2 separate regions of the Homo sapiens genome follow, and region 1 is linked to region 2. Evidence: promoter capture Hi-C in 16 types of primary human blood cells and fetal thymus (Javierre and others, 2016). All regions are on one chromosome and are shown on one strand. The core of a region is centred on a gene start or on the middle of the fragment in contact, and the rest is flanking DNA. Distances in the headings are between cores, read along the strand shown. Region 1 holds the start of PLVAP (plasmalemma vesicle associated protein). Region 2 holds the start of CCDC124 (coiled-coil domain containing 124).

The links. The method cuts DNA at HindIII sites, captures the fragments that hold promoters and counts their contacts. A CHiCAGO score of 5 or more calls a contact.
Region 1: a contact is called between the fragment with the promoter of PLVAP here and the fragment with the promoter of CCDC124 in region 2, in 1 of 17 cell types (neutrophils). The highest score is 5.3, in neutrophils.

The regions. Positions count from the first base shown.
Region 1 is chr19:17,375,838-17,380,495 of GRCh38, forward strand. It overlaps PLVAP (plasmalemma vesicle associated protein), which reads right to left and starts at 1,505. Exons shown (of 6, transcript NM_031310.3): 1 at 1,083-1,505. The coding sequence starts at 1,451. LOC105372298 (a long non-coding RNA gene) reads right to left here and starts at 3,935. Exons shown (of 3, transcript XR_936362.3): 1 at 3,843-3,935; 2 at 3,576-3,649; 3 at 2,953-2,993. RefSeq lists an enhancer at 3,323-4,211. The HindIII fragment of the contact is 29,677 bases long and covers 1-4,658 here.
Region 2 is chr19:17,931,564-17,936,188 of GRCh38, forward strand. CCDC124 (coiled-coil domain containing 124) reads left to right here and starts at 1,452. Exons shown (of 5, transcript NM_001136203.2): 1 at 1,452-1,485. RefSeq lists enhancers at 530-1,068, 1,215-1,274, 1,295-1,484 and a silencer at 1,565-1,614. The HindIII fragment of the contact is 21,651 bases long and covers 1-4,625 here.

The sequences.
Region 1 (4,658 bases), core at 255-2,754, 560 kb before region 2:
GCCACTGCACTTCAGCCTGGGTGACAGAGCGAGACTCCGTCTCAAAAAAAAAAAAAAAAATTGCCAGGTGTGGTGGTGCCCACCTGTAATCTCAGCACTTTGGGAGGTCCAGGAGGGAGGATTGTTTGAGCCCAGGAGTTCAAGACCAGCCTGATCAACATAGCGAGACCCCACGTCTACTAAAAATAAAAAATGACCTGGGCATAGTGGCATGTCCATAGTGCCAGCTACTCAAAAGGCTGAGGCAGGAGGATTGCTGGAGCCCAGGATGTCAAGGCTTCAGTGAGCTATGCTCACATCACTGTGCTCCAGCCTGGGTGACAGAGTGAGACCCTGCCTCCAAAAAAAAGAAAAGAAATAAAAAAAATTTAGCTGGACGCAGTGCCCCACACCTGTAATCCCAGCAGTTTGGGAGGCTGGGGTGAGAGGATTGCTTGAGCCCAGGAGTTCGAGACTAGCCTGGGCAACATAGTGAGACCTCATCTCTGCTAAATATAAACATATTAGCTGGGTGTGGTGGTGCACGCCTGTAGTCCCAGCTACTCAGGAGGCTGAGGCAAGAGGATCACTTGAGTCCAGGAGATTGAGGTTGCAGTGAGCTGTGATAGCAATTGCACTCCATCCAGCCCAGGATACACATGGAGACCCTGTCTCTTAAGGAAAAAAAAAAAATCTATCGGCCGGGTGCAGTGGCTCACGCTTGTAATCCCAACAATTTGGGAGGCCAAGGCAGGCGTATCACTTGAGGTCAGGAGTTTGAGACCAGCCTGGCCAACATGGTGAAACCCCATCTCTACTAAAAATACAAAAATGAGCCGGTTATGATGGCACATGCCTGTAATCCCAGCTACTCGGGAGGCTGAGGCAGGAGAATCACTCCAACCCAGGAGGCAGAGGTTGCAGTGAGCCGAGATTGCACCACTGCACTCCAGCCTGGGAGACGGAGCGAGACTCTGTCTCATAAGAAAAGAGAGCATTGGTCCTGTGATCGTCCCCCTCTCTTGGATGAGGAAACTCAGGCTCAGAGAGGTGAGGGGGCTTGCTCAGGGTCCCCAGGGCGAGTGTCCTGCCCACAGCCTTACCCGGTCACCCTGGCACTGGCGGAAGCTGGCATTGATGCGGTCCAGGTCGCGGCGAGCATTCAGCCACATCTGCATGATGGCATCCTTGGCGCGGGTGGTGAAGTTGAGCTCCTTGGTCAAGTTGGACTGGGAGGCCGTGAGCCCTAGGAGCTGACTGTATAGGCCCTCGGCTCGGCGCTCGGTGGCCTGCAGGTTGGACTCTGTGCTCACGTGCACGTTGCCATAGACCATGAAGAGCACGAGCCCCAGGATGATGAGGAATTGGATGAGGGAGACGAAGAGGAAGAAGTAGCGCAGGTAATACCAGCAGCCCCGAGAGCTGCCCCCCGCCCGAGCGTAGGACCCTCCGTGCTCCATGGCCAGACCCATTTGCTCGATCCCGCCGTCCGGTGCACCGTCCCTGCTCACCACCAGGCCTGCTCTGGCCCCCGCCTCGCAGGGGGGAGTGCTTATATTACTCCTCTTAATACTTCCTCTGCCTGGCTCCTTCCTGGCCCGGAGGAAACGGGGGCTGCGGGTTATCACAACACTCCCACTCTGGCTGTGAGAAGGCGGGGGTGGGGCTGGGGGCCCAGAGCCAGGGCACCGGCTGGACCCCTCTGATTAATGCTGGGTGGGGCGCTGGCTGGCTGGTCAGGCATTCCTGGCCTCTTCGAGCCTCGCGTTCGCCTTTACTTGCTGGCGGGTGCTGTTCTCAGTACCTGCTGTGATTAGGTCGCTGAATCATGCCAGGTCTGTTGCTGTCTCCCTTGTGTGGCGGAGGAAACTGAGGCACAGGGAGGAGAAGGGGTTGCCTCGGGGTCTCACGCTGTTAGTTCAGCGAACTTGACTTACCTCAAGACAGGCTGGCTACAGACGTGCACCCACTTCACCAGGGCGGTGCTGATTAAGTGCCACAAAACGTGGGAAATGTGCCAGGCACGGTGGCTCACGCCTATAATCCCAGCACTTTGGGAGGCTGAGGCGGACGGATCACCTGAGGTCAGAAGTTTGAGACCAACCCGGTCACCGTGGTGAAACCCCCCGTCTCTACTAAAAATACAAAACTTAGCCAGGTGTGGTGGTGCTCGCCTGTAATTCCAGCTACCCAGGAGGCTGAGGCAGGAGAATCGCTTGAACCCAGGAGTCGGAGGTTGCGGTGAGCAGAGATCGTGCCATTGCACTCCAGCCTGGGGTATAGAGCAAGACTCTGTTTCAAAAAAAAAAAAAAACAGAAAAAGTGTGAAACTCTTAGCTAGCCTAGGGATGGAGAAGCAGTAGGTGATTAGTAATTGCATAGGAGGGCGTCACGGAGGGCTGAGCCATGGATGGCGGTGGCGCTGGCTCCCCAAGCTCTGTCATTGCCCCCAGTGCCCTGTTCACTTAGATGCTCAGTAAATGCTCCAGGAAACTGCAGCACAAGGAATAATGAACTTGGAGCGGGGAAGAGCTGGCTTTGTCCCGGGAGAGCTCGGGCAAGAGGCCTCGCATGTCTGTGCCTCCCTTTTCCCCTTTGTGAGACGGGGTATACCCAGTGCCTCGTCACTCTGTGGCTGTTGTTATGATTAGGATCATTTCCTGCTGGAGGCACTGCTGGGGGCTCCGTGAGATGGTGAATGACAAGTGGTGGATACGTGGGACTGAGATTCCTCCCCCGACACTCAAAACCCCATGGGCGGCCGGGCATAGTGGCTCACACCTGTAATCTCAGCACTTTGTGAGGCTGAGGCAGGCGGATCACCTGAGGTCAGGAGTGCGAGACCAGCCTGGCCAATATGGTGAAACCCCATCTCCACTAAAAATACAAAAATTAGCCGTGTGTGGTGGCGAGCACCTGTAATCCCAGCTGCTTGGGAAGCTGAGGCAGGAGAACCACTTGAACCCGGGAGGCGGAGGTTGCAGTGAAGCGAGATCGGGCCACTGCACTCCATCCTGGGAGATAAGAGAGAAACTCTGTCTCAAAAACAAAAACAAACAAACCAAAAAAACCACGGGAGTTTTCTGGGGTCGCTGTGGGTCACCCCCCAGTTGGGCCTGGAGGGGATTTGGGGACCCGGAAGCAAAGGATTCTGTGTGTCCTGCCTATCTCCCAGGATCAGGAGCTCCAGGGAAACCCTCCCTGGAGTCCCTTCTTTGTTTGCTCCATGCTGGGTGATGCCAGGGCCCCCCAAGAGGTGTCAGTCCCAACCTCAGCCACAAGCAACTCCCAGTCTTGGGAGACAGACTGGGACAGGTACCCCCCACCCTGTGGAGTCAGGGTGGGCTGGAGGAACAGGAGCAGGGAGCCGGAAAGGAGGCTGGACTCCGGACAGGTGACAATCATGCAATTGCTGTCCTCTGTAGGGCAATGTGAAGGCTGGGGCGTGGGGACCCGTCCCCCCATTAGCCAGGGTAACAGAGTGGGGAGGGGTCGTTGACAGAGCGGAGGGGTACTCCAGGGTGGTGCTCAGTGAGGCGAGTGTAGAGTTGAGAAGAAGGAAGTTCCCAGGGGTGGGCAGGAAACCCATGTCTGACCTTTGACCTTTGCAGCTACCCGGTGGTTCCTGATCCTGATTCCGGACCCTTCCCAGCGGCGTCGTCGGCGGCTGCTAGTGGGGGAAGGAGGGCTGGGGGCTGCCACGGGTGCCCAACCAGCCATTTCTCTGGGTTGGCCAGACCCACCCAGAGCCCCCCAGAGCTGGGCAGGAGGAGAACATCCTCCGTAATGGGGGCAATGTAGTCTGAGTGAACCCAGCATTACAGTTTAGAGTTCTGGAGTTGAGTTCTGACTGTGCCACCTACCAGCTTTGTGGCCTTGGAGAAGTGACTTTCCCTCCCTGGGCCTCAGTTTTCTCCTGTCCGAAGTGGAGATAGCCAGGTGCAGTGGCTCACACCTGTAATCCCAGCAGTTAGGGAGGCAGAGGTGGGAGAATCGTTGGAGCCCACAAGTTCAAGACCCTGTTCTAAAAAAAAAAAAACCCAAAAAACAAAAACAAAACAAAAATCAAGTGAAGACAACATAGCCAGTTTTTTTTGTTTTTTTTTTTTGTTTTTTTTTTTTTTTTTTGAGATGGAGTCTGGCACTGTTCCCCAGGCTGGAGTGCAGTGGCACTATCTTGGCTCACCACAGCCTCTGCCTCCTGGGTTCAAGGGATTCTCCTGCCTCAGCCTCCTGAGTAGCTGGGACTACAGGCACGCGCCAGCATGCCTGGCTAATTTTTTGTATTTTTAGTAGAGACAGGGTTTCACCAGGCTGGTCTCAAACTCCTGACCTCGTGATCCGCCTGCGTCGGCCTCCCAAAGTGCTCGGATTACAGGCGTGAGCTACCTCACCTGGCCAACAACATAGCCAGTTTTGAAGTACTTGACGTCATGCCTGGAACATACTCAGTCTTAATAAATGATGGCCTTTTTTTTTTGAGACAGAGTCTTGCTCTATTGCTCAGGATGGAGTGCAGTGGTGCGATCTCGGCTCACTGCAACCTCTGCCTCCAGAGTTCAAGCAATTCTCCTGCCTCAGCCTCCCAAGTAGCTGGGATTACAGATGTGCAGCACTACTGCTCAGCTAATTTTTGTATTTTTAGTAGAGACGGGGTTCCACCATGTTGACCAGGCTGG
Region 2 (4,625 bases), core at 202-2,701:
TACCTCACTGCACCCTCCAACTTCTGGGCTCAAGTGATTCTCTTGAATGGGAGGATGAGCATGCCACCACGCCCAGCTAATGTTTTTATCTTCTGTCGAGATGGGGTCTCATAATGTTGCCCAGGCTGCTTTCAAACACCTGGCCTCAAGCGATCCTCCCACCTTAGCCTTCCAAAGGGTTGGGATCACAGGCATGTGCCACTGCGACCAGCCAGGATAATAATCTTTCATGTGATTTTCCGACTTTAAGCCCCCTGCACCCAGAGACCTTTCTGTCTCATGCCTGAAGGGAAGGAACTGGCCACGGAAAAACCTGGGAAATTCCTGGGGGAACTCCCTGAGGCAAGACTGCGCCTGGCAATTTGTAAGAAGGGGGCTGGTGCGACCTGAGCAGAGAGCTAATGGGAGGGTGAGGGAAGCCAAGGGAGATGGGGTGGGAGGTGGGAGGAGTCTTGCGGGACAATGGGAACCCAGGGGAGGCGTTAGAGCAGGGGAGGTGCATCGCGCACTGGGATTTAGGTCCCAGCAAGGTCGCTGGGGGGATGCCTTTTAGGGAATGGACTCTGTGGTCAACTACTCCTACCTGAACTGCCCCCAAAGCATTTGCTTTTCCCTCTCCACAGTCAGGACCAGTGTAACCTTAGACCCCTAATACTGCCATTTTTACTGTTGAGAACACCGAGAAGTAGTAAATGCAGAAAATCTAAAGTATAGTGCCTAAGACAAATTGGCGCCTCAAACCTAATTTCTAAATAAAATTAATAAATAATATTGCAGAAGTGGGGAGCAGGTCAGCAATCCAGGAAGAGGCACTGGCAGGAGCAAGAGACGGAATTTGAGCCTACTCGCGGTTATGAGCCTACTCGCGGTTACATTTTGGCCAAACTCAATTCCTGGTCTCTCTGAGCCTCGGTTTCCCTACCTGGACTGCGCGGTGTGTGTTAATTTCTCTGCCCCATTTATCTCCCCTCTCCTAGCCCCGCCCCAGCGTCACCAGTGGGACGCAGAGACTCAGGACTAGGAAAGCACTTTTAAAGCGTTAAGGGATTGCGAAGAGCTACGGAGAGGCTTCCTCAGGGCTATACTGGGTCCACCTCCCCTCATGGACCGCGGGCGCGCTCTGGCGGCCGGGCCGCTCCAGGCTGAAGCCGCCGGACCACGTGTGTAGTCGCAGCTGCCATCTTTCATCCGGGCATCGGCCATCTTGGTAAAGGCAATGTTCTAGATTTTCGCCTCTGCCCGCCCCTCCTGGTTCATCAACATATTAAATGAGCGTAGGGAATGAGGGCGTATTAAGTGTCCTCTTTTTGAAGAGACAAAGAAGTGGCTGACTACCCTGGCTTGGGTCCGAGGCCCAGCCATCTTTTTCTTTACCAAAATGGCGGCGGTACTGAGGCGCAATGAGTGCGCGCCGCCAGGAGCTCAGCGCGCAGGCCCCATGATGACGTCACGGAGGCGCGACCGGGCCGGCGCTGGGGTAAGAAGGTAGGAGCGTCTGCGGCGCGGGCGGAACCCGGGTTCGGGGAGCAGAGGCGCGGGGCGGGGGCTGCTTGGCCTGGGACCATCCCCTGGGAAGGCTGGAGGAGGGGTGCTGGGAGGCAGGAGCACTTCTGGCGTCCAGTCTGAACCGCACCTAGTTGGGGGCGATGCCCATTTCCAGACTAGACGATTGAAGCCCGACGCGACAGCATGTTCGAGGCCACCTGGCCCCGGACTGCCCCTAGGCAGCTTCTGGTCTCGAGAGGGACAGAGTTGGGCGCGGACTCCCCCGGCCTCTTGTAGGGGGATTAGTGGTGGGGGACTTCAAAAGGGATAGCCGGGAGGGCTGCTTAGAGGAGGCATTGTTGAATTTTGTATTCTGTTATTTTACCTTCACATCCGTGGGGTCTTAATCCCCATGGGTCTTGATTCGCTTCTAAGTGTGCCCCTCGCCCAGCCTGAGCCACTCCCTGGGTACCGCCTGGGCTCCCAGCTCCTGCCATCTGGGGAGTCCACCTCCTCACTAACCCCAGAGGGCTTGTGTGACCCATAGATTGGGCTTCCCGGCTCTAACGCCCTCCACACCTTCCCATCTCCCTGGAATACAAATCGCCCCCTTTTCCAGCCTACCTCCTGCATCCCGCGTGCAGGCTGCGCTCTCCCCCACTCATTCAGACTTTTCCTTAGATGTCTCCTTTAGGAAGCCCTTTGACCCAGGCTGGGTCAGAAGCCCTCTCCGGGCTTCCCCGGCGCCCTGCGTGTCCTTATTAGGACTCTGATTGCATGTGTTGGCTCTTCTCTGGGAGTCCCATGCAGGCAGAAAGCTCATTTGTGCCACCTCTTTCCCCAGCATCGCACACGTATTAGGTGCCCAGTACATATTTATTGAATGACGTGTGCAAGTGAGTGAGTGTTTACTACACAGAGAAAAGTGTCTGTATTTCCAGCTTGGGCTGTCATAACTAATACCACAGACTGGGTGGCTTAAACAGCAGAAATTGCCAGGCACTGTGGCTCACACCTGTAATCCAGGCACTTTGAGAGGCCGAGGCAAGCGGATCACTTGAGGTCAAGAGTTTGAGACCAGCCTGGCCAACATAGTGAAACCCCGTCTCTACTAAAAATACAAAAATCAGATAGGCATGGTGGCACATGCCAACATGGTGAAACCCCATCTCTATAAAAATACAAAAATTAGCCGGGCGTGGTGGCAGGTGCCTGTAATCCTAGCTGCTTGGGAGGCTGAAACAGGAGAATTGCTTGAACCGGGTGGGTGGAGGTTGCAGTGAGCCGAGATTGTGCCACTGCATTCCAGCCTGGGTGAAAGAGCAAAACTCCGTCTCAAAACAAAAAAAAGCCCCAACGTGGAAACAGCCCAAATGTCTAGCTGTGGACAATGGATAAACAAAATGTGGCGTATCCATGCAGTGGAGGAATATTCAGCCATAAAAAGGAACGAAGGGCCAGGCGCAGTGGCTCAGGCCTGTAATCCCAGCACTTTGGAAGGCCGAGGCGGGAGGATCACTTGAGCCCAGGAGTTCAAGGCCAGCCTGGGCAACATAGTCAGACCCTGCCTTAAAAAAAAAAAAAAAAAGCTAGGCATGGTGGCCTGCACCTATAGTCCCAGCTACTTAGGAGGCTCAGGTGGGAGGATCACTTGAGCCCAGGAGGTCAAGGCTGCAGTAAGCCGAGATTTCGCCACTGCACTCCAGCCTGGGCGACAGAGTGAGACCCTGTCTCCAAAATAAATAAATAAATGTACTCTCACACTGTGTGGCCTTTTGTGTCTGGCTTCTTTCACTTAGTATTGTGTTGTTGAGGTTCAACCACATTGTATCATGTATGTATTGGTGCCTTGTTTCCTTGTTTCCTTTTTTTTTTTTTCTTTTAAGAGACAGGGTCTTGTTCTGTTGCCCAGGCTGGAGTGCAGTGGCACAATCATAGCTCACTGTGGCCTCAGCCTCCTACGCTCAGGCGATCCTTCCACCTCAGCCTCCTAAGTAGCTGGAACTACAGGCACAAGCCACTGTGCCTAATTATTTTTTATTTTGTAGAGACGGACTCTTGCTATGTTGCCCAGGCTGGTCTTGAACTCCTGGCCTCAAGCAATCCTCCTGCCTCAGCCTCCCAAAGCACGGGGATTACAAACGTGAGTGATCGCACCCGGCCTGTGATTCCATTGATATGGACTGAAATGTCCAGAACAGGGAAAGCCACAGAGACAGAAAGCAGATTGATGGTTACCAGGGGCTAGGGGAAGAGGAATAGGGAGTGACTGCTGATGGTGATGTGGCCTCTTTTGGGGGGTGCAAGTGTTCTGGAACTAGACAGAGGTGGTATTTGCACAACGCTGTGAATATACTTAAACACTGAATTGTACACCTTTTTTTTTTTTTGAGATGGAGTCTCGCTCTGTCGCCTAGGCTGGAGTGCAGTGGTGTGATCTCAGCTCATTGCAACCTCCGCCTCCCGGGTTCAAGTGATTCTCCTGCCTCAGCCTCCCGAGTAGCTGGGATTATAGGCATGTGCCACCACACCCAGCTTTTTGGTTTTTTTTGAGAGTGAGTCTCACTCTGCCGCCTAGGCTGGAGTGCAGTTGCACGATCTCGGCTCACTGCAACCTCTGCCTCCCAGGTTCAAGCGGCTTTCCTGCCTCAGCCTCCTGAGTAGCTGGGATTAAAGGTGTCCGCCACCACACCCAGCAATTTTTATTTATTTTTAGTTGACACGGGGTTTCACCATGTTGACTAGACTGGTTTTGAACTCCTGACCTCAGGTGATCCGCCCACCTTGGCCTCCCAAAGTGCTAGGATTACAGGCGTGAGCCACTGTGCCTGGCCGGAATTGTCCACCTTTAAATTGATTCTTTTTCCTTTCATTGAGACGGAGTCTCACTCTGTCGCCCAGGCTGGAGTGCAGTGGCACGATCTTGGCTCACTTCAACCTCCACCTCCCGGGTTCGAGCGATTCTCCTGCCTCAGCCTCCTGACTGGCTGGGAATACGGGTGCACACCACCATGCCCAGCTAATTTTTGTATTTTTAGTGGAGATGGGGTTTTGCCGTGTTGGCCAGGCTAGTCTCGAACTTCTGACCGCAAGTGATCCGCCCGCCTCGGCCTCCCAAAGTGCTGGGATTACGGGTGTGA